6 separate regions of the Homo sapiens genome follow, and all the other regions are linked to region 3. Evidence: promoter capture Hi-C in 16 types of primary human blood cells and fetal thymus (Javierre and others, 2016). All regions are on one chromosome and are shown on one strand. Each heading gives the region's core, a stretch centred on a gene start or on the middle of the fragment in contact. The rest is flanking DNA. Distances are from core to core; before and after follow the strand shown. Region 1 overlaps LOC105371664 (a long non-coding RNA gene). Region 2 has its middle 67 kb from the start of RGS1. Region 3 holds the start of UCHL5 (ubiquitin C-terminal hydrolase L5). Region 4 overlaps LOC105371664 (a long non-coding RNA gene). Region 5 has its middle 91 kb from the start of RGS1. Region 6 has its middle 110 kb from the start of RGS1.

Evidence for each region. Contacts are between HindIII fragments. The CHiCAGO score rates a contact against its expected background, and 5 or more counts as called.
Region 1: a fragment that was not itself captured here is called in contact with the fragment with the promoter of UCHL5 in region 3 in 10 of 17 cell types (neutrophils, M2 macrophages, M1 macrophages and 7 more); the score reaches 10.7 in neutrophils.
Region 2: a fragment that was not itself captured here is called in contact with the fragment with the promoter of UCHL5 in region 3 in 7 of 17 cell types (neutrophils, total B cells, naive B cells and 4 more); the score reaches 10.9 in neutrophils.
Region 4: a contact is called between a fragment that was not itself captured here and the fragment with the promoter of UCHL5 in region 3, in 1 of 17 cell types (neutrophils). The highest score is 10.6, in neutrophils.
Region 5: a fragment that was not itself captured here is called in contact with the fragment with the promoter of UCHL5 in region 3 in 2 of 17 cell types (neutrophils and M1 macrophages); the score reaches 8.6 in neutrophils.
Region 6: a fragment that was not itself captured here is called in contact with the fragment with the promoter of UCHL5 in region 3 in 5 of 17 cell types (neutrophils, total B cells, naive B cells and 2 more); the score reaches 13.7 in neutrophils.

The regions. Positions count from the first base shown.
Region 1 is chr1:192,541,205-192,545,625 of GRCh38, forward strand. The region is part of intron 4 of LOC105371664 (a long non-coding RNA gene); the gene reads right to left. Among named protein-coding and RNA genes, the nearest start is that of RGS1, 32 kb to the right of the region's middle. RefSeq lists an enhancer at 3,946-4,005. The HindIII fragment of the contact is 3,242 bases long and covers 793-4,034 here.
Region 2 is chr1:192,506,830-192,510,752 of GRCh38, forward strand. No RefSeq gene overlaps it. Among named protein-coding and RNA genes, the nearest start is that of RGS1, 67 kb to the right of the region's middle. The HindIII fragment of the contact is 3,059 bases long and covers 846-3,904 here.
Region 3 is chr1:193,058,042-193,062,222 of GRCh38, forward strand. UCHL5 (ubiquitin C-terminal hydrolase L5) reads right to left here and starts at 1,319. Exons shown (of 11, transcript NM_001199261.3): 1 at 1,144-1,319. The coding sequence starts at 1,219. It overlaps RO60 (Ro60, Y RNA binding protein), which reads left to right and starts at 1,571. Exons shown (of 9, transcript NM_001173524.2): 1 at 1,571-1,735. RefSeq lists enhancers at 671-980, 1,005-1,737, 1,141-1,670, 1,738-2,470. The HindIII fragment of the contact is 5,498 bases long and covers 1-4,181 here.
Region 4 is chr1:192,524,701-192,528,827 of GRCh38, forward strand. All of the region lies in intron 4 of LOC105371664 (a long non-coding RNA gene), which reads right to left. Among named protein-coding and RNA genes, the nearest start is that of RGS1, 49 kb to the right of the region's middle. The HindIII fragment of the contact is 6,156 bases long and covers 1-4,127 here.
Region 5 is chr1:192,482,581-192,486,934 of GRCh38, forward strand. No RefSeq gene overlaps it. Among named protein-coding and RNA genes, the nearest start is that of RGS1, 91 kb to the right of the region's middle. The HindIII fragment of the contact is 2,469 bases long and covers 978-3,446 here.
Region 6 is chr1:192,461,892-192,466,092 of GRCh38, forward strand. No RefSeq gene overlaps it. Among named protein-coding and RNA genes, the nearest start is that of RGS1, 110 kb to the right of the region's middle. The HindIII fragment of the contact is 4,743 bases long and covers 130-4,201 here.

The DNA.
Region 1 (4,421 bases), core at 1,164-3,663, 520 kb before region 3:
CATGTCCCAGTAACATGTCCAGCTTTAATTTTACCATCTCAAAAATGTGCCTCTGCTAAAAACAGGTTTATACATTTCACTTTCCAACAGGGGGACCACACTGATACAACCTCTGGACAGTGGTCCACATTGCTCACCAAACCTGGAGCAATGTTCCCTTCAGTCTTTCCAAGTACAAGTCCTAGTCAAATTCTACTCCCTGCACAGAGCTGGCATCTCTGTACCTCAAGAAACCTCCCTTCTCCGACTTCTTGCAGTACTTGTAGTTTCTACCACACAGATCTCATACCTGCAAATCCCTTTGAGGTCAGTGGCCAACTGGTCCTATGTTCCTGTCTAATCTCGTTCCCATGTTCTCCTCACTGAGAACAGTTGTTATATGAAATGTTATTTCCTTTTCCTAGAATATCCTTCCACTCTCACATATTAAACTGTCTAGAATATTCCTACTCAGGCTTTGCTTCTCAGCTTAAATGCTGCTTCCTCCATGAGGCCCCTGCTGTCTCTAGGTGACATAGGAAAGCTGTTTTCTGAGTTCCTATAGCATTCTGTACATTACTCCTTCAAACCAGTTATCTGATTTATATTGAAGTTGTCTACATGTCTGTTTCCTCACTAAAGATTCCTTGTCATAGACACAGTCATCAGCTTTTCTTATGTACTAAGTACTATTCCCAGGACAAAACTGGCACATGATATTTGTTAAATAAATCCAAAAATGAAATATTTATTTGCATAATAATGAAGACATTCTGTGTTACTTTAAGCTTAATAAATAAATACGGAGTTGGAAGCTTAGAGGGAAAATGTTTATCAAGAAAGCAGATATTGACTCTCATTGGCCTAGATCTAATTCCTATAGCAAACAATAAAGCAATGTTGGAGAAAGACAAAGTAGCAATTTATTTAGCTATTATTGTTCTTTCAGGGGTCACGGCCTTATACTTAGAGGTAAGTTCTTATATTCCACTATTTTCTAGAATTGGAGCGACTTATCCTTATAATAGAACTGTATTGAACATTTTGCTATTCCTTTAGCTCACCAAACTTTTTTTTATTCTTTATTTTTTATTTTTCTTGTGATAGGGTCTCACTCTATTTGTCCAGGCTACTGCAGTGCGGTGGCATAGGGTTCGCTGTAACCTGGAACTCCTGGGCCCAAGCAATCCTCCCGCCTCAGCTTCCCAAGTAGCTAGGATTATAGGCGCATGCCACCATGCCCAGCTAATTTTTAAAAAATTGTTTTAGAAGTAGGGTCTTGCTACATTGAGCAGGTTGGTCTTGAACTCCTGGCTTCATGTGATCCTCCTGTCTCAGCCTCCCAAGGCACTGGGATTACAGGAGTGAGCCACTGCACCCAGTCATAGCCCACCAAACTTTCTTAAACCTGTATTTTCAAATAGACTGTGTCCTCTATCTAAGAGGATGCCCCCAACACACTCCTTATTGGACAACCTCATATTCATCTTTTCATAGACAATATAAGGGCCATGTTTATGACCACTTTTCTGATTCCTTCTAGAGATAAATTCTTTCATGCTTCCAAAACCCTGCATGCACAGTTTTAGTACAGCACTTAACTTTATTTATTTACAACAAGTAAATCCTCTTTTTTCCCCTGTGTAGACTGTGACTACATAAAAGCATGGAGTTCACCTATTTCATGTATAATTTTTAAAGCTCAGCAATGTTTAGCACTTTTCATGGAACAAGCATGTATTCATACATTTAAAAGATGAAGAGAGAAAAGGAGGGGAGGAAAATGAAAAGACATGAAGATACTTGAGTAGCTAGTATTCTGATGCAAGTTAGTTTCTGTTTATTAGAAGATTTGGAAGCAAGCAGCAAGGTCAAAGCTATCTTCTTATTTCTGTTTGCATGTAAAGTTGTGGAAACATAAGGTGTTTCTAGAGTAAACTGCCGGCACCTATTCCACAGGTTCTTGGGTGTCAAGAGTCAATACCTAGCTTGTAGCTATGAGAATCCACTTTCGGGTGTTATTAGTGTTGGAAGGCAGTTGCAATGGTAGCAGTGCCCCACTTCTTAATTCCAGCATTCTAACGACTGCATAGCAGCTCCAGGAATTGTTCCTAAACTTACAGCTTTAGTGAAGACCTCAGAGGCAGTAGCTTCCTAGTGGAGTCAATCTGGGGTCAGTCCTGAACACCCAGCCTACTATCCTCTCCTTTAACATTTCAATAATTGTTTAAGTACATCATGTCCCGTATTTTTAAAATCCTTCTTGCTTAAAATACCTATAGTGGTAATTTCTGTTTCCGTTAGTGCATCCTGACAAAATAAGAGGGAACAAAGGGAAGGAGAGGAGAGAAAAGAGAGAAAAAGAAGTCTCGGCATATAACAACTTAATTTCAATCCCTGCACTGAGAGACCTGACCCACAGTAGCTAGTATGGTTTCTAAGCGGCCTAAGTTCACACCCCTGGTATGACCCAACCATCTCATGAATTTCTGCCTTCAAAAGCTCATGGGTGTCAAAAGCATTTCCTGTTTGTTCTGGCTAATACCTGATGATAGGCCCCTGATATTTCCTTCTCAGTGCACTTATTAAAAAAGGATTATAATTGTGAATCCTGTCTCTTTCCCTTTGGAGATATATATGCAGCTCCTACGACTTCACTCGCTCCCTGTCCCTACTCCCTCATTTTCCCTTTAAAGCACTCAGTCACTTCTGCACAAATCAGAATGGAGTTCAGCTCTTTCTTCTTCTTTTTTTTTTTTTTTTTAACTTTTTTAGAGACAGGATCTTGCTATGTTGCCCAGGTTGAGCTCAAACTCCTGGCCTCAAGCAATCCTCCTGCCTCGGCCTCCTAAAGCACTGGGATCAGTTCTTTCTCCTGTTGTCAGTCGTTTCTGAAGAAAATCTGTTTTCACTGCTGTAATGTCTGGCTTTATCTTAGACAAGAGAGACTTATTCTTTCTGCTCTTTTTCTTCAACTTTTGTAGGTCAACTGATAGCCAATTAGATTATAAGAATAATTTTTTATTTCTATAAAAATATAACATTGGTTCATTTTAAACAATATAGATCATTAAATATCATAATGATTTATTATGAAACCACATTTTCTATATATCTTTTAATGGAGAGATAGTGTTCTCTCTCCAGAATATTTAACCTGTGATTTTACCTAAAGTCTGACAGACTAAATACTTCAAGTACTACTCAGTATTATGAACCAATCCCATAAATATTAGAACTTTCTAGTCCACATATAGTTTCAAAGTAAACACTAATAAACAACATGACTCCAAAATTCATCTGCAGAAACTACAATTTAGTGTAGGAACTATAAACTACAAAATAAATTAACATTAATAGAATCGTTCTTTGGCTGGGCACAGTGGCTCACACCTGTAATCCCATCACTTTGGAAGGCAGAGGTGGGTGGATCACCTGAGGTCAGGTGTTCAAGACCAGCCTGGCCAACATGGTGAAACCCCATCTCTATAAAAATGCAAAAATTAGCTGGGCATGATGGCAGGTGCCTGTAATCCCAGCTACTCGGGAGGCTGAGGCAGGAGAATCGCTTGAACCCGGGAGGCAGAGGGTGCAGTGAGCCTAAATCGCACCATTGCACTCCAGCCTGGGTGACAGAGCAAGACTTCATCTCAAAAAAAAAAAAAAAAAAGAATTGCTTTTGTCAATTGATGAAAAAAGGAAATTCCAACTGATGCTTTAAAAGAGAAATTGCCTGGAGTAGAGAAAGACTGTAAGAGTTCTACTCTCTTTGGCCTTCGATTAAACAGAAATATTTCAGAGGAGCTTGAATCCTTTGAAACACACTTATACTGCACAGCGTGTTGCTATCCTCATTTCTGTTACTTAGGTTTTGCATTTTCAGGAAATGAGTAATTTGCCAAACATGCAGAGTCCCATTATTTAGATTCAGTTCTCTTGAAGGGATAAAAACAGTTGTTTAAGAGGGACTCGAAGATTCTTCACATTTTAAGCGTAATATACTTGTAAATGTTTCTCACTTGGAAGAAACTGCTGACAGGTGTGGTTGTGGGTTAAGCTTTAAGAAAGCTTGAGAAATTCCCCTGTTGACTAAGTATCAATTCACTGTAGTCCCAGAGCGATCGCCTCTGGACATCCCCTTTGAACTTTTTTTTTCCTCTAAAGGGGTTCATGCAAGAACTGTGATACACTGTATGTTCCTTCCTAAAAAGAAAGTACCTCCATGGACAACTTGAAAATTTCCAGCAACAGTAAACTTATTACCATTTTTCTCATCATTCCTAATCATTTTTAATGAGGAAGTGCAAACAGCTTGGAATCAGGAGCTATAGACTGTGAATGAAAAATGCAAACAACCTGGAATCAAGAGCTATAGATTGTGAATGAGTAGTCTCATTTAATCTCCACTGCATTCACTCCTAGAGAAGCTTGGAAAATTTCCC
Region 2 (3,923 bases), core at 1,125-3,624, 550 kb before region 3:
CTTTCAGAGACTTGTTTAACCATTAGGGGGACCCCTCAGGTCATGCAGGCAGTGTGCGACTACTCTTATTAGACATCCAATTTCAGGTTGGTGATCAGTTCATCCCAATCAGGTTCAATGTAACTCAGTCAATATTTACAACAGGAAACTTTAACTGGAGTGAAAGTTATAATTAATCTCTTCGTTATTTTGGTACAGATTACAGTTAAAATGTCACACATTAATTATATTCATGTGTATCATGTGTTGTTAACTACTTAGCTCACTTAAATATCCATTTCCCAGCTGTACTATAAATTCCTCACAGGCTAAGATCATGTTTTAATATTTTTCTGTGTCTCCCAAAAAGCTAAGACAGCCTAGATATATATATTTGGCAATTGGATTGATGAATAAATTAGGTGTGTTGTTTTGGCTTTGCCCGGGGAAAATAAGTTAACTCACTTCAGGCTCCCTTCCCCAGCCACTCCCCACACTCCCCCCGACCCTCCACTGAGTTATCCTATTCTATACCATTGAATAAAACCATTGAGTAAATCCATAAGTTTGATTTCAGCTCTCTGGAAGCATTTGATTCATTGTGAAATTTTTTCTCAAAATTATTATAAAATACAATTTAAAAAGGGAATATATGGAGCAAGAGGACAACAGGGAGATGGTGGAGGAGGAGGAAAAAGAAAATGAAGAAAGCAAAGGAGGAGGAGGGGGAAGAGATGATGAGGATAAAGAAGAAATGTAGAAATTGCAAGTACACAAAATCAGGAATCTTTTAAAAGACTGGTTTTATCCTCAAAATTCTTAGGCATAAACGCCATCTCTCTGAATGACTTAAAAAATCAATATAAAGCTTGATTCTATGGTTTATTGATTCTATATTTCAATTATCCCTAATTAAAATGTCTGCTTTGATTTTAATTTCTAAACAAGGGGAAAAAATTACAGGAATTTCTTTTAAATGTACTATTTCATCCTCAACCCAGTGGATGCCATTCCACTATATTTAGTGAATTCCAGTAATATAAATATATATGATATTCTTGCATATAGATACATATATATTCTTATGCACGAAATTGAGTGGTACTTATTTTCAAAGGATTTAGTAGGAGACGAATATATAAGTGAGTGGCTCTTTCTCCCTAGGATCACAGACCTGTTGCTCCAACTAAAATAAAAAGTATATTCGATTTAAGATATTATGACTCTTTATGATTGACTCAACACATATTTATTGAGCCCTTACTATGCACCTAATACTCTCTTAGTACCTGAATGCTACCTATCCATAAATGAGTGAATAATATTTATAAAGAAATATGGCATAGAAGACTGAAACAGAGAACAACGTGAGATGGAAAATAATCAGGTGCCTTAAATATAATATGGACGATAAGGGCTATTTAAAATCTAAAGGATAGAATAATTGAAGAGTGCTCTGAGATACATTTCCTTATCATCTACACAGCACAACTAATAACATCCTATGAATGTTTTAAATATCAAATGAAATAATAATATATATAAGAAGAGTTAAGTATCCACTATGTATGTAAGAAATTTGCCAGGCACGATGGCTCATGCCTGTAATCCCAGCACTTTTTTGGGAGACCGAGGCGGGCGGATCACGAGGTCAGGAGATCGAGACCATCCTGGCTAACATGGTGAAACCCCATCTCTACTAAAAATACAAACAATTAGCCGGGCGTGGTGGCAGGCACCTGTAGTCCCAGCTACTCGGGAGGCTGAGGCAGGAGAATGGCGTGAACCGGGAAGCGGAGCTTGCAGTGAGCGGAGGTTGCACCACTGCACTCCAGCCTGGGTGAGAGAGCGAGACTCATCAAAAAAAAAAAAAAAAAAAAGAAATTAAAATGGACCAGGTGAAAACAGGCTTACAGAAGTAAAAAAACCTCTAAATTCACATAGAAAGAGACACTGCAACCATGATGAGTATCCACAACATTTCTAGTCCTATGCTTAATAATGTTAAAAGAAAAACTTCAGCCAAATTAAATTTAAAGGAGTTTAATTGAACAATGAACGATTCGTGAATCAGGCAGCTCCCAGAATCATGGCAGATTCAGAAGGACTCCAGGTATGCCTCGTGGTCAGAACAGATTTATAGACAAAAAAAAAGAAAAGTGACGTATAGAAATCAGAGGTGAGGTACAGAACAGCTGGAGTGATTACAGGTTGGCATTTACCTTATTTGAATACAGCTTGAACACTCAGCAGTGAATGACTGGTTGAAGTATGGCTGCTGGGACTGGCCAAGACTCAGCCACTGTTAATAGGCCCATACTCCTAAATTAGGGTTTCAATCTTGTCTACCCACTAGATTAGGCTGCAGTTCCTCCACAAGGACTCAAATATAGTATAGAGTCCTTCTCAGGCCATATTTAGTTTGCTTTAACAATTATGGAAGAATTTTTATAAAGTATTACATAACATCAAGTATTTGATGATAGGAGACATAGGTGATAGGAGATAAAGTCATAGAGACAAGGAGGGCAAAGGTGCACAGCATCTTATAATGATGTTGTCTTCACTCTTACTAAGGTAAGAATTTTTATGAAGTATTACATTCATTAAATATTTGATTGCTTTATCTGTCATACCAGTAAAAATGTGTTCATAAATACATATCATAAGGTGGCAGGCAATAAATACAAAATATGTAGTATGGTACATGTTGATAACTACTAAGGACAAGCACAAGCAGGGAAAAGAGATAGAAATTATGGGTTAGTGGGGGGAATTGTAATTTCAATTTAGATGACCAGAGACAGCCCCACTGAAAAGGTATCATTTGAGCAAAGACCTGAGAGTTGAGGTGAGGAACAATGACATGTAACTATTTGGAGGAACGGCATTTCAGGTAGAAGAACAACATCAGTAGCAGTTCTGACGGGGGTGAGGCCTGTTGTGTTTGAGAAACAGCCAGGTGAGCAGTGTGCCTGGAGGCATGAGTGAGAGGAGGATGATAGGAGACAAAGACACAGAGGCAAGGAGGGTGAAGCTGCACAGCGTCTTATAATGACGTTGTCTTCACTCTTACTAAGGTAAGAAGCCATTAGAAGGTCGTGACCAGAGAAATGAAATTATTGTTTATGGTAGGAGATTATTCTGGCTGGTGTCACTGGTGAAATGGAGAGAATAGTTATAAAGTTATCATTGCAATTAGGTGAAGAGATGATAGGGGCTTGGACCAGGATGGTTGCAGTGAATGTTGTGAGAAGTGTTTGGATCCTCAACTCTACTGTCAAATTGTTTACAGCCCAGTTAGGAGAAAAAGTCTGGGAAACTTTAATGTATTTTTTAAAAAGAGAGAGAAATAAATCGTTAGAAGCTAAATGATATGAGTACAATTACAAATTTAAGAGTGATTTGGGAAAAGCAAATTGAACAATGTGACAGAAAGGTGACTGATTAATAGTGTTTTAATAAAAATAATAATTGCTGACATTCATTGTGTTCATTACATGCCAGGTGCCAGGCATAGTGCCTTACGTGTGATATCTCAATTAATCTCCACCAAAAACCTATGATAAGTTGCTGCTACTGTCCCATTTCCTATATGCTATAAGAGGAAATCAAAGAAAGAATGTCTGGAAAGGTTAATAAGTTGTTCAAAGGACATAGCTGTAATTTCGTCATGATTTGGCTTTCATGAGAGCCCAAGCTCAACACTGACACGCTATTCTGATTTGCCATATAGGTGGAGGGGGAAATAAGACATTCTCAGTGGGTGAATCCATGTGAGTGAAGGTTAGGAATTCAAATGTTTTGTGTGTGCATGAGAATCGCAGGTCTGGAGCAGAAGGTTCATTTTGGGGAACAATAAAAGAAATAGTGGAGACTGAAAAGTATAAACAGATTTTAGAAGTCCTCCAGAGCTAGCCAAAAAAGCTTTCATTGTATCCAGG
Region 3 (4,181 bases), core at 69-2,568:
CATGGTGAAACCCTGTCTCTACTAAAAAAAAAAAAATTAGCCGGGCATGGTGGCGCGTGCCTGTAATCCCAGCTACTCGGGAGGCTGAAGTAGGAGATTCGCTTGACCCCGAGAGATGGAGGTTGCAGTGGGCCAAGATCGCGCCACTGCACTCCAGCCTGGGCGACAGAGCGAGACTCTGTCTCAAACAAAAAAAAGAAAATTTCCCAATCCTTACCACTGTGCCTGAGATATAGAAGATGAACAACATATGCTTGATAAATGACATTCCAAATATTAAGCTGTGTACAACAGGCAATATCTACATCAACGTTTAATTGTTAATCCCGCGTAAAAGTTTTAACATCGTAGAGTCAATAACACTTGGGAAATAGATAAAAACGTACTGTCCAAAGAAGAGACTAAGAACAAGATAAATAGGGAAGGATAAAAAGTAAAATGTGTTGATTATTTAGGACGAAAGGCACTAAATACAGCCAGAGAGAAACTGTGAGGAAAGCATGTGGCCTCTAGTCTAGAACACTAGCTCAAGAAAACTCACTTCACCGGAAGCCAGAAATGAGCAGAGAGCGGAACCAGTGAAGTGGCCTTTCAGGCCCACGCAGTCAGCGTGTGTGGACGTCCCGAAGAGCTATTCACACATTCAAGGCGTTCTGCTTTGAATAACCAGAATCTCGAGTTCCTGGGCGGCTTGAGCCGCAGACACCTCACCCTTGAGAAGGCGCACCCTAGGGTGGCTTCTGCAGGACTAATGGCCTGAGCAATGCACTTGACCTCACCAGCCCGGGATAAGGTGCGCGCCGCAGAGAAGGGGCAGTGCAAAGGGCAATACGTGCTTAAGAGCTTGGGGAGCGAGGGCCCTCAAGTCAATTACAGGATTTGGGTGCCAGGTCCTGAGGATGCAGCAGGCACAAGACTGACACGATCCTTGCCCTCGTGGTGTGGCTCTACAAATTACTGTGGAAACGCGACTGTCTCGAGCTGAGGAGAGGGCAGAACATCTACATTTCCCCCACCCGGACTCCAGGTTCCTGAAGTCACCTCTCCAGACGCGGGGCGGCGGTGGCCGCAGGGAACCACTCCATGCCCAGCTTGGGCCTCCTCCCGTGACCCCAGGCCCAGGACGGTCCCCTTGGTTCTCACCGAATCCTTTAATGAGCTCGGTGAAGACCCCGGGGTCGCTTTCCATGAGGCACCACTCCCCGGCATTGCCCGTCATGGCCCTGGCCACACACCGCCCCGATCCACCTCTCGCTCTCAGCTGCCCCCCGCACCAGCTGCCGCCGGCCACAGATCTCAGCAAACCCGCCGCCGAGCTCGTCAACCACACGTCACCCCGCCTACTTCCCGACAGCCTCCGGGCGCCGTCACCTGCAGCGCGACTGAGCGCGGGAGGACGCTCTAGCCACCCTAGAGACATCGAAACTCTTCCCAGGCCTTGCAGCACCCGTAGCGGATTCGGAAGGGCTGGGGCCTGAGAAGAAAGGGCGGTGATTCACAGCGCCGAGGAGGCAACATCCGGGATCCTCGCCCCTCTGGGGCGGAGGCGGGGCAAAAGAAGAGGGGCAGGACTCGTTCCCGGGAACCGAACCTGGAATCCCCGGCGGCAGTGGGGCTGTTGCTGTTGCTGTGGCTGTCGCTGCCCGTCAGGCTGCCTTCTTTTGTCGTTTCCCAGCGCTGCGCAGGACTTCTCCTGGCGGCGCTGCGGATCCAGGGGGTCGGCTGCCAGGTACAGGTGAGGACATTGCGGGAGGCCGGCTGGGAGCCTTTTGTGCGGCCCCAGGGACGCGCAAATTCTGACCAGTCCTCCATGTCTCTCACCCGCATCCCAGGGGTTGAGGCTGGGCAAACGCCGCGAAACTATCGCTCTTCCCCGTCCCGCTTCCGCGCCTGTCCACCCTGGGTAACGGAACCAGCATCGCGGTAGGGACATCCTCGCTAGGCCCGGCCGGACCATTCCTCAGGGTGGGCCCTTTCCGAAGCCGGGACCGCTCCTGCTTGTCGGCATCGCTCCCCACAGGCCGACGTCGAGAGGGCCTGCTTTACTCCTCCTCTTTCTCCTCCTTCTCCCGCGGCTTCTGCGCGGAGAGGCGTCGCCCGGGATCTGGGTTTTGGAAGAAGGATCTTTGTGGGAAGACAGGGTGAATTTATCACAGAGGAATAACGAGGGAGAGGAGAAAGGTTTGTCCATGGGGCTGCTAGACTAGTGGAAGGGGATGCGGTGCGTCAAGGGAAAATTAGGTTGAAAACAAATGTCGTGTATTAATCTAAAAACATTTGGAATGGTTCTAAAACTGGATGATGAGTTAAACCAAATATTTACTAAATATTTACTAAATTGCCCTCATTCAGCAGGCTCTTATAGAATACTATAGTGTTAAGATTAAAGTTTTTAAGAGTATATTGAAGTCGTTAAGTGTATATTTACTCCTTAAAAGCTACATATTCCAAGAAAGACCTTTGGCTTCCAGAAAAAAAAAATGTTTTAGTGGGTAAAACTCTGACTCCTTCCTTCTCAAATAGGTGACTTGTGCCCTGGAGTTAGGGAGCCTTGTGCTACAGATTATGTGAAGCCATGAAATAAACGTGGTAAATTTTATTGAGGGAAGCAACAGAGCAGCTTTTGTATTAAAAGGAGCCTGAGTACGCTATGGGGTAGAAGCCAAAATTTGTATGAAGTGTTGGTTTAAAAAAAATTTTTTTTGTAACTTTCTTGAAGTTTATCTCCGGAAACTCTGCCCTCAACTTGGAGACTAGGAGGATTCTGTACAGTATATTTCCTTGAGATACTTTATTGGAAAAGTTTAAGAGGCACAGAGTCCAGAATGATTGGCATCAGAGCCCAAAGTAGTTTGTGGTATTTTTTTTAATCTGTAATATTGCTATGAACTTGAAAATGTTTTCTGTGCAAAATACATCAAAACTAAAATGTACTTGATACCCAACTTAATTAACATGGTACCTATTGTAGAAAGACCAAACTGAAAATTTAGCCTTTGGCACAATCTAGAAGTAAGCAGAGAAGGGGGTTAAGATGCCTTTCATTATGTTAACGTTTAATCCTGAGAGTTTACATAAAAAGCCAGATTTCTGGGTCTTTGAGAAAAATGAGATCTGGCAACTACTAGTTCCATACCACGTGGCAACCAGTTGGCAGCTCCCCTCAGACTAGCATGCTGTCATTTTTGCCACAGTTCCTTCCTCATCAGTTTTTATAGCATCACATTGATCAGTGGATTCAGATACCTGTATCATGGGTAAACAAACCTCTATCATGGGCCCAATTTTCTATTGTTGTTTCTTTACATTTGTCATGCACTCTCATAGATATGTCAGCTTTGACTTCATTTAAAAAGGAATAATCTGCAAATGTGTTTGACTTCTTGAGATGAAAGGCAGCATTTTCAAATAAATTATAAAGAGACTTTGGAAGATATTGAGATGTGTAAATTCAAGAAAAATGTAGGATTCCTTGGAAATAACACATTAGTACTGATAAAAGATACTGTATATGCTGTAGTTCTGATGATTGTGAAACAAGTGCTATTATATAATGTGTGTTACTAGCATTTCCTGATTTTGCATTCTAAATTAAATTTAAAAGTAGAGAAATGGACATTGTATAAAATATCCACAACCAATTTAATATGCGGCCATGCTTGGCCGGGCACCGTGGCTCACGCCTGTAATCCCAGCACTTTGGGAGGCCCAGGCGGGTGGATCACGAGGTCAGGAGTTCAAGACCAGCCTGGCCAACATGGTGAAACCCCGTCTCTACTAAACATACAAAAAATTAGCCGGGTGCGGTGGCAGGCGCCTGTAATCCCAGCTACTCAGGAGGCTGAGGCAGGAGAATCGCTTGAACTCGGAGGGCGGAGGTTACAGTGAGTGGAGATCGCGCCACTACACTCCAGCCTGGGTGACAGAGTGAGAGTCTGTCTCAAAAAAAAAAAAAAAAGTGTCCATGCTTTTAATATTATAGTATTGTAATATTTAACTTCTCAAGAACTTAATTTATAGAGATTTAATACAACATTAGTTGTATGGTGTGTTTTAAGAGCACTAGATAGATAGGTCAGGCCCATCCAAAGAATTAACTATATCTTTTTGTTGTTAATCTGGATTTACAACACTTGATTATCCAGGAATGGATTAACTGATGACCAGGTTCTGACCTCACT
Region 4 (4,127 bases), core at 764-3,263, 530 kb before region 3:
CTAACAGAAATACTGAGAAGGAAGAGGAGGATAAATAAATCTTCCCTAGGAAATATTATTTTCATCACAAATTTACCTGGAACACTTTTGATAGACATAGAGCCCAATCTCTCCCTACTAGAGAAATCATTACTTCTGAAACATTAAGATCCCAGAAAATAAGCACATAGTTGGAGCAACATTGGCAAGTGGGTTTAATAAGAACATGTGAAGTAGGACATTATTAGGACATTCCTAGGAAAAGATAAATTGAATTTTATTTTCAAAAGCTGCCTTAAAATTTCTAACACACAAGTCAGAGAGAGTGAGCAGTAAAATATGTTTGAAAGTACAATAACAGATGAACAGTCTAAATTCTAAATTTTAAGTAACGACCAAGAAGGAAAGGCCCTTCCATATAGCTTATAAAGGAAAACAAAAGGCTTTCTACAAAGAGTTAATTACTGCAAATTAGATGACCACAGAATTTTGACTACTAAGAAAGACAGAAAAGTATTACCAGACAATAGAGATCTGAGGTGAAAAAAAAAAAGAATCTTCTAGAGACTGAAATATGTTTCCACACCTTGCTAATGATTGTCCAAGGACCTTCATGCTTCAAATTGCAGTGATTAATTGTCATTCTTTTTCTTAATCTATCAGCTGCATTTAACACATAGGCCCCCTCCTTATGAAAATATGTACTTTCTTCAGTTGGTTCCAAGAGATCTCACTCTCTAGGTCTTCTCCCTCTTCCTTTCCCCTCCTTTTTGTTGGATCCTCCCCTTCTTCCCAACCTTTCAATATTGCTCCTTCTTCATAGGTGTTCCCACCAAGTCCTATTTATGTGCTGATGTCCTCCAAGTTTATATCCCGGCCTTCCCCTCTCTCCTAAAATCCAGACTCCTGTATCCAACTATCTTTTCAATATCTCCCCTCGGATCTTTAGAGGGCTTTGCAAATTTAACATTTCTCAAAATGACCTCTTGATTCCCACCCACCCATCCAAACCTATGCTTCCTCCCACAGTCTTCACCTTGTTACTTAATGCCACCATTATTCATCTGTTGCTCTACCCAAAAGCCTAAAGGCATCCTTGGCTCCCCCTCTTTCTCTCTCAACCTACATCATCTCCTTCAGCAAGCCCTGGCCACTCTATATCCGAATTTTACTGTATCTGAATCCTAGACCAAGTGCCATCAGTTTTCCCCTGGATTCCTGCAATAGTCTCCTATCTGGTTTCTCTGCTTCCATTTTTCTACCCTGTTCTCCCATTAATCTATTCTCCAAAGAAAACAGGAATTCTTTTGAAAATATAAACAAAATTCTATCATTTTCCTTCTTGGAAACATCTACTGGTTTCCTATCTCACTCAAAATAAAACCCAAGCTCATTAGGTTGGTCTATGAGATCCTCCTTTATCTGGCCTAGTAACAGCTGATACCTTTAACCCTATCAATCTTTTTGTCACCACCCATTACACTACTGCCACAGAGCCTTTAGATTTGCTGTCTTTTTTTTTTTTTTTTTTTGAGACAGAGTTTCGTTCCTGTTGCCCAGGCTGGAGTTCAATGGTGTGGTCTCGGCTCACTGCAACCTCCACCTCCCAGGTTCAAGTGATTCTCCTGCCTCAGCCTCCCAAGTAGCTGGGATTTGGGATTACAGGCACCCGACACCACGCCTGGCTAGTTTTTTTGTATTTTAGTAGAGATGGGGTTTCAGCATGTTGGCCAGGCTGGTGTCAAACTCCTGACCTCAGGTGATCCACCCACCTTGGCCTCCCAAAGTGCTGGGATTACAGGAATGAGCCACTGCGCCCGGCCCTTGCTGTTCTTTTTGTCCAGATGCACTTCCCTGAGATATTGTTATAACTTGCATTATGACTTTTCTCAGGTCTCTGTTAAAATGTCAGGTCTTCTAAGAGGCTTTTCCTGATTTCCCTTCCTTATTCTCCAACATTGTCCTCTACTTCTTTTCTCTCTCTCATGGCTCATATTATCAGGCATTATATCATTTATTGATGTGCTTATTGTCTTCACCACCATCACCACTAGAATATAAGTTTCATGAAGTCAGGGACTTGATTTGTTTTCTTCTCTGCTATATTCCCAGTGTCTAGAGCAATTCCCAAAAGATCATGGGAACCAGTAAATAATTGTTGAATACAAAAATTCTGAATACAAAAATTACTAATTAAATATGTGTAAGTTATTTGTTAGTAAACTACAAGTTTATATGGACTTAGTCAGTCTCAATGAATTATCTTGATTTTACACAGCCTTCAGTTTAATCTCTACAGAACTACCTGGTACTAATAGCAAAGTTCTATTGTCCATTTCTGTCGGTATAAGCAACAAACATATCATTCACAACTAAATGCAAGTGTAACTTACAAAAGTAATAACTAAACCTGGATATTAACAAGTTCATATTGAACTGCAAGTTAATAAAATACTATCAATAAATCCGAAGGTACATAATATCAAAGAACTTAACACTGCAAACAATACAAAGAACCCACACAATGAAAAAGCAAATGAGTACCACTCATGTGGTAAGCAGCCTGAGGTCACAAAATCATGATAGGAAAAGATCAAGTTCAAATCGTTTGATTCACCTTCACATGACCAACCTATATATATTCCACAGGAAAAAAGAGAACTTGCTATGGTCATTTATTGCCTCTCTCTAGAGTTTCCAGAAGACAGTATGAGGTCTACTCACTAAACCATTCAGTGACCAGATCCAGGAATAATCATTTGTCAGAGGAGAGGCTCACTGAATGATAACAGAATAAACTCAGGCTAACTCACACACCTTAAATAGAATATAGGTTTGCTAAAGGAAACTATCCATGAATATCAAGTTAAGACTCCCACTGGATTCCAGGAACAAAAAGGCTTTCGCTTTTACTCACTTTCACAAGAGCTCTATGCCATTTACTTCTGGCCAAGGAAGTCATGAGTAAAGTCAAATGCTCAGCTTCCATGACAAAATATTGGGGATTTCTCAGGAATAGTTTCCTTCTCTTGAGCAGCTTCAAATATATTTTAAAACTAGGCACGTGCCCAGAGATACACATCCATACACGCAAATATATATAGACATATGCTAACAAAGATATACGACAAGAGGTTACCAAAGATACATGGGTCATGCATGTATTCTTCTAAGTTTTTTTTCTTATTGTCATTTTCATGTTTTGGAAAGGATAATTAGACATGCCTGGAAATTAGGGTATTTGCACAATTTGGGAAAACTCAGTCATGGAAAAGAGGGTTGTGATGTAACATCAGGTACTCTCTACCTCCTTCTTACTCTTTCACTCATATTCCATAGGCTGAATGGTAGCAGAATCAGAAGATTCCTCCTCTTCAGCTTGGGAACCTGTGAGTGGCCAGTACCAGAGAACTGCTACTGACCCATGCAAACTTTTAGAGCTGAAAATAACTATTAGAGTCAAGATGTCACATGATGTGGTTACAGAACTTGCCTTCTAGTCACAGTGATAAACAAACAAACAAAAATGAGTCAAGTTAGGAGAGTAGTAGAAAAATTCTATGCAGAACTGAATAAGTTGTGTGTATATATATAAAATACATAAAAATATATAATAAAACATAATATTTCATTTTTTAAAACAAAAATAATTATATCTCACTGAATCTCTGTGATTTCTTTTTTACCTAGCTTCTCTCAGTGGACTAAAGTAAGATCTATAACTTTTCCCTCTACTTATTGAAGACTTTAATTATATATGCATATAAACAAGTATGTAAAAAATATATCCATCATTTATTAAACAAATATTTCTTGAGCACTAGTATGCAGCAGGCACTGTTCTAGGCACCAGGAAAATACTAATGAACAAAAAGACAAAAATACCTGCTGGGAGTTACATTCTAGTGTGAGGAGACAGGCAGTAAAAACTGGCAATAATATATAGAATTTATATGGTTATAACTGCTGTGAATAAAAATAAATCAGAAAAGGAGGATAAAGGGTTTTGAGAGGTTGCAATTTAAATATCATGGTCAGTGAAAGCATCATTGAGAAGCTAAGATTTTAGTAAAATCTGAAAGAAGTAAGAGAGCAAGTTATTCAGGTATTCAAGGAATATTCCTCCAGGTGGAGGTCACAATTTGGGG
Region 5 (4,354 bases), core at 962-3,461, 570 kb before region 3:
TTGTAGTATAGTTTGAAGTCAGGTAGTGTGATGCCTCCAGCTTTGTTCTTTTGGCTTAGGATTGACTTGGTGATGTGGGCTCTTTTTTGGTTCCATATGAACTTTAAGGTAGTTTTTTCCAATTCTGTGAAGAAAGTCATTGGTAGCTTGATGGGGATGGCATTGAATCTATAAATTACCTTGGGCAGTATGGCCATTTTCACGATATTGATTCTTCCTACCCATGAGCATGGAATGTTCTTCCATTGGTTTGTATCCTCTTTTATTTCACTGAGCAGCGGTTTGTAGTTCTCCTTGAAGAGGTCCTTCACGTCCCTTGTAAGTTGAATTCCTAAGTATTTTATTCTCTTTGAAGCAATTGTGAATGGGAGTTCACTCATGATTTGGCTCTCTGTTTGTCTGTTATTGGTGTATAAGAATGCTTGTGATTTTTGTACATTGATTTTGTATCCTGAGACTTTGCTGAAGTTGCTTATCAGCTTAAGGAGATTTTGGGCTGAGACAATGGGGTTTTCTAGATACACAATCATGTCGTCTGCAAACAGGGACAATTTGACTTCCTCTTTTCCTAATTGAATACCCTTTATTTCCTTCTCCTGCCTCCTGCCAGGGCAATTGCCCTGGCCAGAACTTCCAACACTATGTTGAATAGGAGTGGTGAGAGAGGGCATCCCTGTCTTGTGCCAGTTTTCAAAGGGAATGCTTCCAGTTTTTGCCCATTCAGTATGATATTGGCTGTGGGTTTGTCATAGATAGCTCTTATTATTTTGAGATACGTCCCATCAATACCTAATTTATTGAGAGTTTTTAGCATGAAGGGTTGTTGAACTTTGTCAAAGGCCTTTTCTGCATCTATTGAGATAATCATGCGGTTTTTGTCTTTGGTTCTGTTTATATGCTGGATTACATTTATTGATTTGTGTATATTGAACCAGCCTTGCATCCCAGGGATGAAGCCCACTTGATCATGGCGGATAAGCTTTTTGATGTGCTGCTGGATTCGGTTTGCCAGTATTTTATTGAGGGTTTTTGCATCAATGTTCATCAAGGATATTGGTCTAAAATTCTCTTTTTTGGTTGTGTCTCTGCCCGACTTTGGTATCAGGATGATGCTGGCCTCATAAAATGAGTTAGGGAGGATTCCCTCTTTTTCTATTGATTGGAACAGTTTCAGAAGGAATGGTGCCAGTTCCTCCTTGTACCTCTGGCAGAATTTGGCTGTGAATCCATCTGGTCCTGGACTCTTTTTGATTGGTAAGCTATTGATTATTGCCACAATTTCAGCTCCTGTTATTGGTCTATTCAGAGATTCAACTTCTTCCTAGTTTAATCTTGGGAGAGTGTATGTGTCGAGGAATTTATCCATTTCTTCTAGATTTTCTAGTTTATTTGCATAGAGGTGTTTGCAGTATTCTCTGATGGTAGTTTGTATTTCTGTGGGATCGGTGGTGATGTCCCCTTTATCATTTTTTATTGCGTCTATTTGATTCTTCTCTCTTTTTTCTTTATTAGTCTTCCAAGCGGTCTATCAATTTTGTTGATCCTTTCAATATTCAACATTCTTAAAGAAAAGAATTTTCAACCCAGAATTTCATATCCAGCCAAACTAAACTTCATAAGTGAAGGAGAAATAAAATACTTCACAGACAAGCAAATGCTGAGAGATTTTGTCACCACCAGGCCTGCCCCAAAAGAGCTCCTGAAGGAAGCACTAAACATGGAAAGGAACAACCGGTACTAGCCGCTGCAAAATCATGCCAAAATGTAAAGACCATCGAGACTAGGAAGAAACTGCATAAACTAACGAGCAAAATCACCAGCTAACATCATAATGACAGGATCAAATTCACACATAACAATATTAACTTTAAATGTAAATGGACTAAATTCTCCAATTAAAAGACACAGACTGGCAAGTTGGATAAAGAGTCAAGACCCATCAGTGTGCTGTATTCAGGAAACCCATCTCACGTGCAGAGACACACATAGGCTCAAAATAAAAGGATGGAGGAAGATCTACCAAGCAAATGGAAAACAAAAAAAGGCAGGGTTTTCAATCCTAGTCTCTGATAAAACAGACTTTAAACCAACAAAGATCAAAAGAGACAAAGAAGGCCATTACATAATGGTAAAGGGATCAATTCAACAACAAGAGCTAACTATCCTAAATATATATGCACCCAATACAGGAGCACCCAGATTCATAAATCAAGTCCTGAGTGACCTACAAAGAGACTTAGACTCCCACACAATAATAATGGGAGACTTTAGCACCCCACTGTCAACATTAGACAGATCAACGAGACAGAAAGTTAACAAGGATACCCAGGAATTGAACTCAGCTCTGCACCAAGCGGACCTAATAGACATCTACAGAACTCTCCACCCCAAATCAACAGAATATACATTTTTTTCAGCACCACACCACACCTATTCCAAAATTGACCACATACTTGGAAGTAAAGCTCTCCTCAGCAAATGTAAAAGAACAGAAATTATAACAAACTGTCTCTCAGACCACAGTGCAATCAAACTAGAACTCAGGATTAAGAAACTCATTCAAAACCGCTCAACTACATGGAAACTGAACAACCTGCTCCTGAATGACTACTGGGTACATAACGAAATGAAGGCAGAAATAAAGATGTTCTTTGAAACCAACGAGAACAAAGACACAACATACCAGAATCTCTGGGACGCATTCAAAGCAGTGTGTAGAGGGAAATTTATAGCACTAAATGCCCACAAGAGAAAGCAGGAAAGATCCAAAATTGACACCCTAACATCACAATTAAAAGAACTAGAAAAGCAAGAGCAAACACATTCAAAAGGTAGCAGAAGGCAAGAAATAACTAAAATCAGAGCAGAACTGAAGGAAATAGAGACAAAAAAAAACCTTCAAAAAATTAATGAATCCAGGAGCTGGTTTTTTGAAAGGTTTTTTGAAAGGACCACCACAATATTTTTAAGAAATAATTCCACTATGTCTGCTTTCTGATCAACTCTCTTTGGTTAACAGGTTTGCATTGAAAGTTAAACAGTGATTTGAATTTACATTAGTGCCAATTTTGCTTCAATTTTATGGCGGCATTATTTGTACCCTGTTGAATGGTGAGATGAATTTTCTATTAATGCTAATTCGCCCCTGTCCCCATGAAAGTAAAACTAGATTAAATAAACTGTAATAATTTTCATAGAAAATAGTAGACTTATTATTTGGAGTGTGGTGTTTCCCCAGCCAAGCTCTTAAGATTGTGCAACATTTTACTTGGTTTTATTCCATGGTTTAGGCTGGCACTGACCCAACCAGTGCTCTTGAAAACACATGCTGAAGGTCACATTAGGGAAGAATATGAGTGGGTGAGTGAGTCAGTGCATGTCCACTAACTCCTCTAGAATAAACAAATATCTGTCTGACCAGGTATTAATCAACTTAGTAGGTGGAAAGCTTATTTAAAAAAAGAATTCCTTCTAGATGCCAGCAGAAAATAGGTTACCAAAGAACTGATTTGGCCAAAACTTTTCCTATAGAATTACTAAAGGTTAAAACACTTACTACATTCTAAATTAAAAGAATTATCTACTGCTAGAAGTTTCTGGAAGCCATATTCCTTAGGAACAACTCAAATCTTTGGCCTCAATGTAATTTATCAAAGTGTCTTTCCCCAAATCTCACTGTTACCAGTAAATTACACCATATTACTCATTCCTAAGGCAGATGAGAAATGTCATCCCATTATTGCCTTATATTTCCTAGAGTGAACTGACCAGTTGTATATTGGTAATTGCATAAATTCCTTGAGGGCAGGAACTATGCCTGGTGAAGTTATAGACATATCATACATATGTAATGAATATTTACTGAATTTTACATCATGACAAATTCTACCACAATTTCATGAGAACTTAAAAAATAAGTTTGCAAGAAAATATTTTATAATGGTGGTACATATTGAGACCATTTTAGAAGACTACTGTGTTACACAACACTGTTACCTAAGAGGAAAATAAATTGGCATGTAGTTATCCAAACTCAGTAATCATTTTTAGGGTAAATGATGAGATCACACTATATTAACATATTTATTAATGATGATCATAAAGCAATACTTCCACAAAAATAATCACCACAAACTTAGAGTGAAGTGAGTATAAGGTGATTTACTAACAGATGCTCAATGAGGATCAAATAAATACAAGAAATTGTAAAATTTAAAATTGTGAGCATCCAAATGTTAGCATAAAATTCATTTTCCTTTCACATTTTATTTTGAAAGTTTTGAAATCAACAGAAAAGATGCAAAAATAATATAACATCCATAGACTCCTTGTCTCGATTCCTCAATGTTAACCT
Region 6 (4,201 bases), core at 1,251-3,750, 590 kb before region 3:
TCTAGAAGGAGCATGGGTTCCTGATGACTGACCATGGAGTCACCATACCTGCTATGGACTGCTTTTCCCTGGAATTCTTTATGTGAGAAACAAATAAGCTTCCCATCATATTTAAGCCACGTTCTTTCAAGCTTTCTGCCATACAGAGCTGCATCTGGTCATAACCAAAACGACATCTTTTTTTTAATTCCACAAATTATAAGAAACACAAGCCTATTTTAAATTTAAAAAAAATGTTCAGTGGAAACTTGATGGCAACAGATGGGGAAGTATTGAATAGGAAGGAAATACTGCAAATTCAATAGAGGTCATCGCTGTTTCTAGATATTTGTTATCACTTCTCTGCCACAGACATGTTCATCATTGTCTAGATGTGTCCGTAAGTCTTTTCCTTCTGACATGCTCTTAAGGAGCTCCTCCTCTCTATTTTGACTTTTCTTTTTAATGCTATCTTCTCATTTACTCATGGTAACTCCAAATACCTCTAACTTTATATTGTCTGTCTTCTTGCCAGCTACTCCATCCAAACTACATCCTTAGCCTTACATTTCTCAAGCAAAAATGATATCAAATCCTACCCCGTGCTTTTATTAACAAAAGAACCATCTACCCCAGAGATAAACTAAGCAATTCCATTAGGAGGAAACAGCCACAATCTTTTTTTTAATAGCATTTTTCTTCATACTCTATTATTACTTAATTAAGAAGCAGCAAAAATACAACAGTGAAAATTTAATGAAATCAGAAATTCCCCCACAGGTTTTAGCAGAATTTCTGGGTATCATAAAAAATACCTAGAAAAGCGTGAGCCCAGATTCTGCTGACGCTCTTGTGACTCAAGCAAAAGCAGGAACCATCTCTTCTAACACAGAGATGCATCTTCAGTAATCTGTTATCCTCTCAAATTCCAGCCAGCTCTTGCTGATGCAGGCAGACATTGCCACCCTAAGCCTGCACTTTCTCACTACATCTGTTATACAATGATTTATCTCTTAAGCTGCCATGGGCTGCAGCTTCTCTCTTAAACACAGCATTATAATGCTTGTATTTGTATTCTTTCACCACTTAGCTTTCAGTTAATGCACATTATCTGAAAACTTTGTTATATAATCCGCAATCTTTCCTCCAATCCCAATTACTGCAATTATCCTTCCATTTTTACCTGAATGATGGAGTAAAAATCCCTGCTCTTCAGCTTCCTCACTTCTTCATCTCCTTTATTTTTCATCTCCATTCTACCTCTGATAGAACGGAGATGAAGGCCGGGCGCGGTGGCTCACGCCTGAAATCTCAGCACTTTGGGAGGCTGAGGCAGGTGGACCACCAGGTCAGGAGATCGAGACCATCCTGGCTAACATGGTGAAACCCCATCTCTACTAAAAATACAAAAAGAAATTAGCCGGGCGTGGTGGCGGGCGCCTGTAGTCCCAGCTACTCGAGAGGCTGAGGCAGGAGAGTGGCGTGAACCCGGGAGGCGGAGCTTGCAGTGAGCTGAGATCGCGCCACTGCACTCCAGCCTGGGCGACAGAGCGAGACTCCGTCTCAAAAAAAAAAAAAAAAAAAAAAAAAAAAAAGAATGGAGATGAAATTAGAACGTGTCACCATCTCAAATTCCTTCACCTCTTAAATCTTAAACTTTAATTTCCTATCACCAACAATTTTCAGCATTCCGTCTTTCCCTCCCTCTCACTAAGACTACATTTTAAGTCTTTTGAGAAAATTCTGGGAAAAGAAGGCTGAGCCAATGTCTCTGACTCTTCTTTTCTCTTCTTAGAAACTATCCAAAAGTAACAAGGGGAAGAACAGAAAGGGGAAGAACAGAAAAGACCACTACACCTTCAGTAAAATTAACAAAAGCTCATAACCCTGAATGGAAATATACAAAGATGAGCTCTGAAGTACAATGAAAATTGGACCAGGGCATTGACTGCTTGTAGGAGATCTGAGCAGAGCGCTGGTACAGTGCTCAGGGCAGGGCTTGCTCTAGTTGCATCACACCTTAAGGGGCAAACAGTGGTCTCCTGCTAGAATAGCAAGATTCCAGTGGGTGGACAGGCATTGGGAGCCTCCCTGATGCCTTTGTATTACAAAGAAGTGGCCGGGAAGGTGGAACTGAAAGAGGAAATATATAGAAAACTGCCTTTGCTGTGAGAGTGGCGGCATAGAAAATAAAATATAAATAGCAAGCAGTCCTGTACCAGCTAGAAAAGAAGAAAAGATCTCAGCACTCCTGTGCGTGTACATTTGGAAAAACACGTATGTGGGTGACACAGTGGACTTCGCAGAGCCCCCCAGGGGACCTTCCTGCTACCCTAAAATATGGAAGAGTATAACAAAACACTTGGAGAAATCTGTCTGAATTTTTAAACCGCAAGCCCACCTTCCTCTCTGATACCTCTCCCAACTCTTCTTCAAAACTAACCGGTTGTCCAAAATGAGCAATACTTAGGAAATAAAGAAAGAAATAGAAGAAGGATGAGGAGAGGAATTCACTAAACAAAAGGCAGATGATCATTGGTCAAAAAATAAATACAACAAAATAAGTGATTGCTATTTGCACACCTGACTCCCTGCACCAGACTGTAAACCACTATTTTTTGTATTCCCAGCACCAAGCAGAGTGACTTGTACCTAATAAATAGTGCATCTAGATTTGATGAATAAATAAGTGATTTTCTGAAGTAGCATTTCAAATATTACTGATCTTCTCGAGAATATTACTTGGGGTGATTGAGTCTTCCTGGATTTTCTGAAATCAAAGAAATATAAGTAATTTTCTGTGCTAAGTTTAATTAAGGCAGGTCCTTTTTTTGTTCAGTATCCTTAAAGTTTTAATGAAAAGTTGTTCCCATGATGGTGATATGTAAGTTCACAGACGTGGTTTTGCATTTTTTTCTTTTTCTTTTTTTTATTATACTTTAAGTTTTAGAGTATATGTACACAACGTGCAGGTTTGTTACATAGGTATACATGTGCCGTGTTGGCTTGCTGCACCCAATAACTCATCATTTACATTAGGTATTTCTCCTATTGCTATCCCTCCCCCAGCCCCCCACCCCACAACAGGCCCCATTGTGTGATGTTCCCCCCTGTGTGTCCAAATGATCTCATTGTTCAATTCCCACCTATGAGTGAGAACATGCGGTGTTTGGCTTTCTATCCTTGTGATAGTTTGCTGAGAATGATGGTTTCCAGCTTCATCCATGTCCCTGCAAAGGACATGAACTCATCCTTTTTAATGGCTGCATAGTATTACATGGTGTATATGTACCACATTTTCTTAATCCAGTCTATCATTGATGGACATTTGGGTTGGTTCCAAGTCTTTGCTATTGTGAATAGTGCCACAATAAACATACGTGTGCATGTGTCTTTATAGCAGCATGATTCATAATCCTTTAGGTATATACCCCGTAGTGGGATTGCTGAGTCAAATGGTGTTTCGAGTTTTAGAGCCTTGAAGAATCACCACGCTGTCTTCCACAATGGTTGAACTAATTTACACTCCCACTAACAATGTCAAAGCATTCCTATTTCTCCACATCCCCTCCAGCATCTGTTGTTTCCTCACATTTTAATGATTGTCATTCTAACTGGCATGAGATGGTATCTCATTGTGGTTCTGATTTGCATTTCTCTGATGACTAGTGATGATGAGCATTTTTTTTTCATGTGTTTGTTGGCTGCATAAATGTCTTCTTTTGAGAAGTGTCTGTTCATATTCTTTGCCATTTTTTGATGGGGTTGTTCGTTTTTTTCTTTTACATTTGTTTGAGTTCTTCGTAGATTCTGGATATTAGCCCTTTGTCAGATGGGTAGATTGCAAAAATTTTCTCCCATTCTGTAGGTTGCCTGTTCACTCTGATGGTAGTTTTTTTGCCATGTAGAAGCTCTCTAATTTAATTAGATCCCGTTTGTCTATTTTGGCTTTTGTTGCCATTGCTTTTGGTGTTTTAGTCATGAAGTCCTTGCCAATGTAATGCAGATCCTTTTAAAAGTTTAATTAATTCAACAAATATTTGTTGGGTTCTTTACTAAGTGCAGATCAATTTGTGAGGTTCTACCTTGGATCTAAAAACAAGACCTCAAGTTGCACATCTACTATTTAATTAATTCAATTCTTAGTTTTTTTTATTTTTAACTTTTAACTATTACGCGTACATAATAGATGTATATGTTTAAGAGATACATGTGCTGTTTT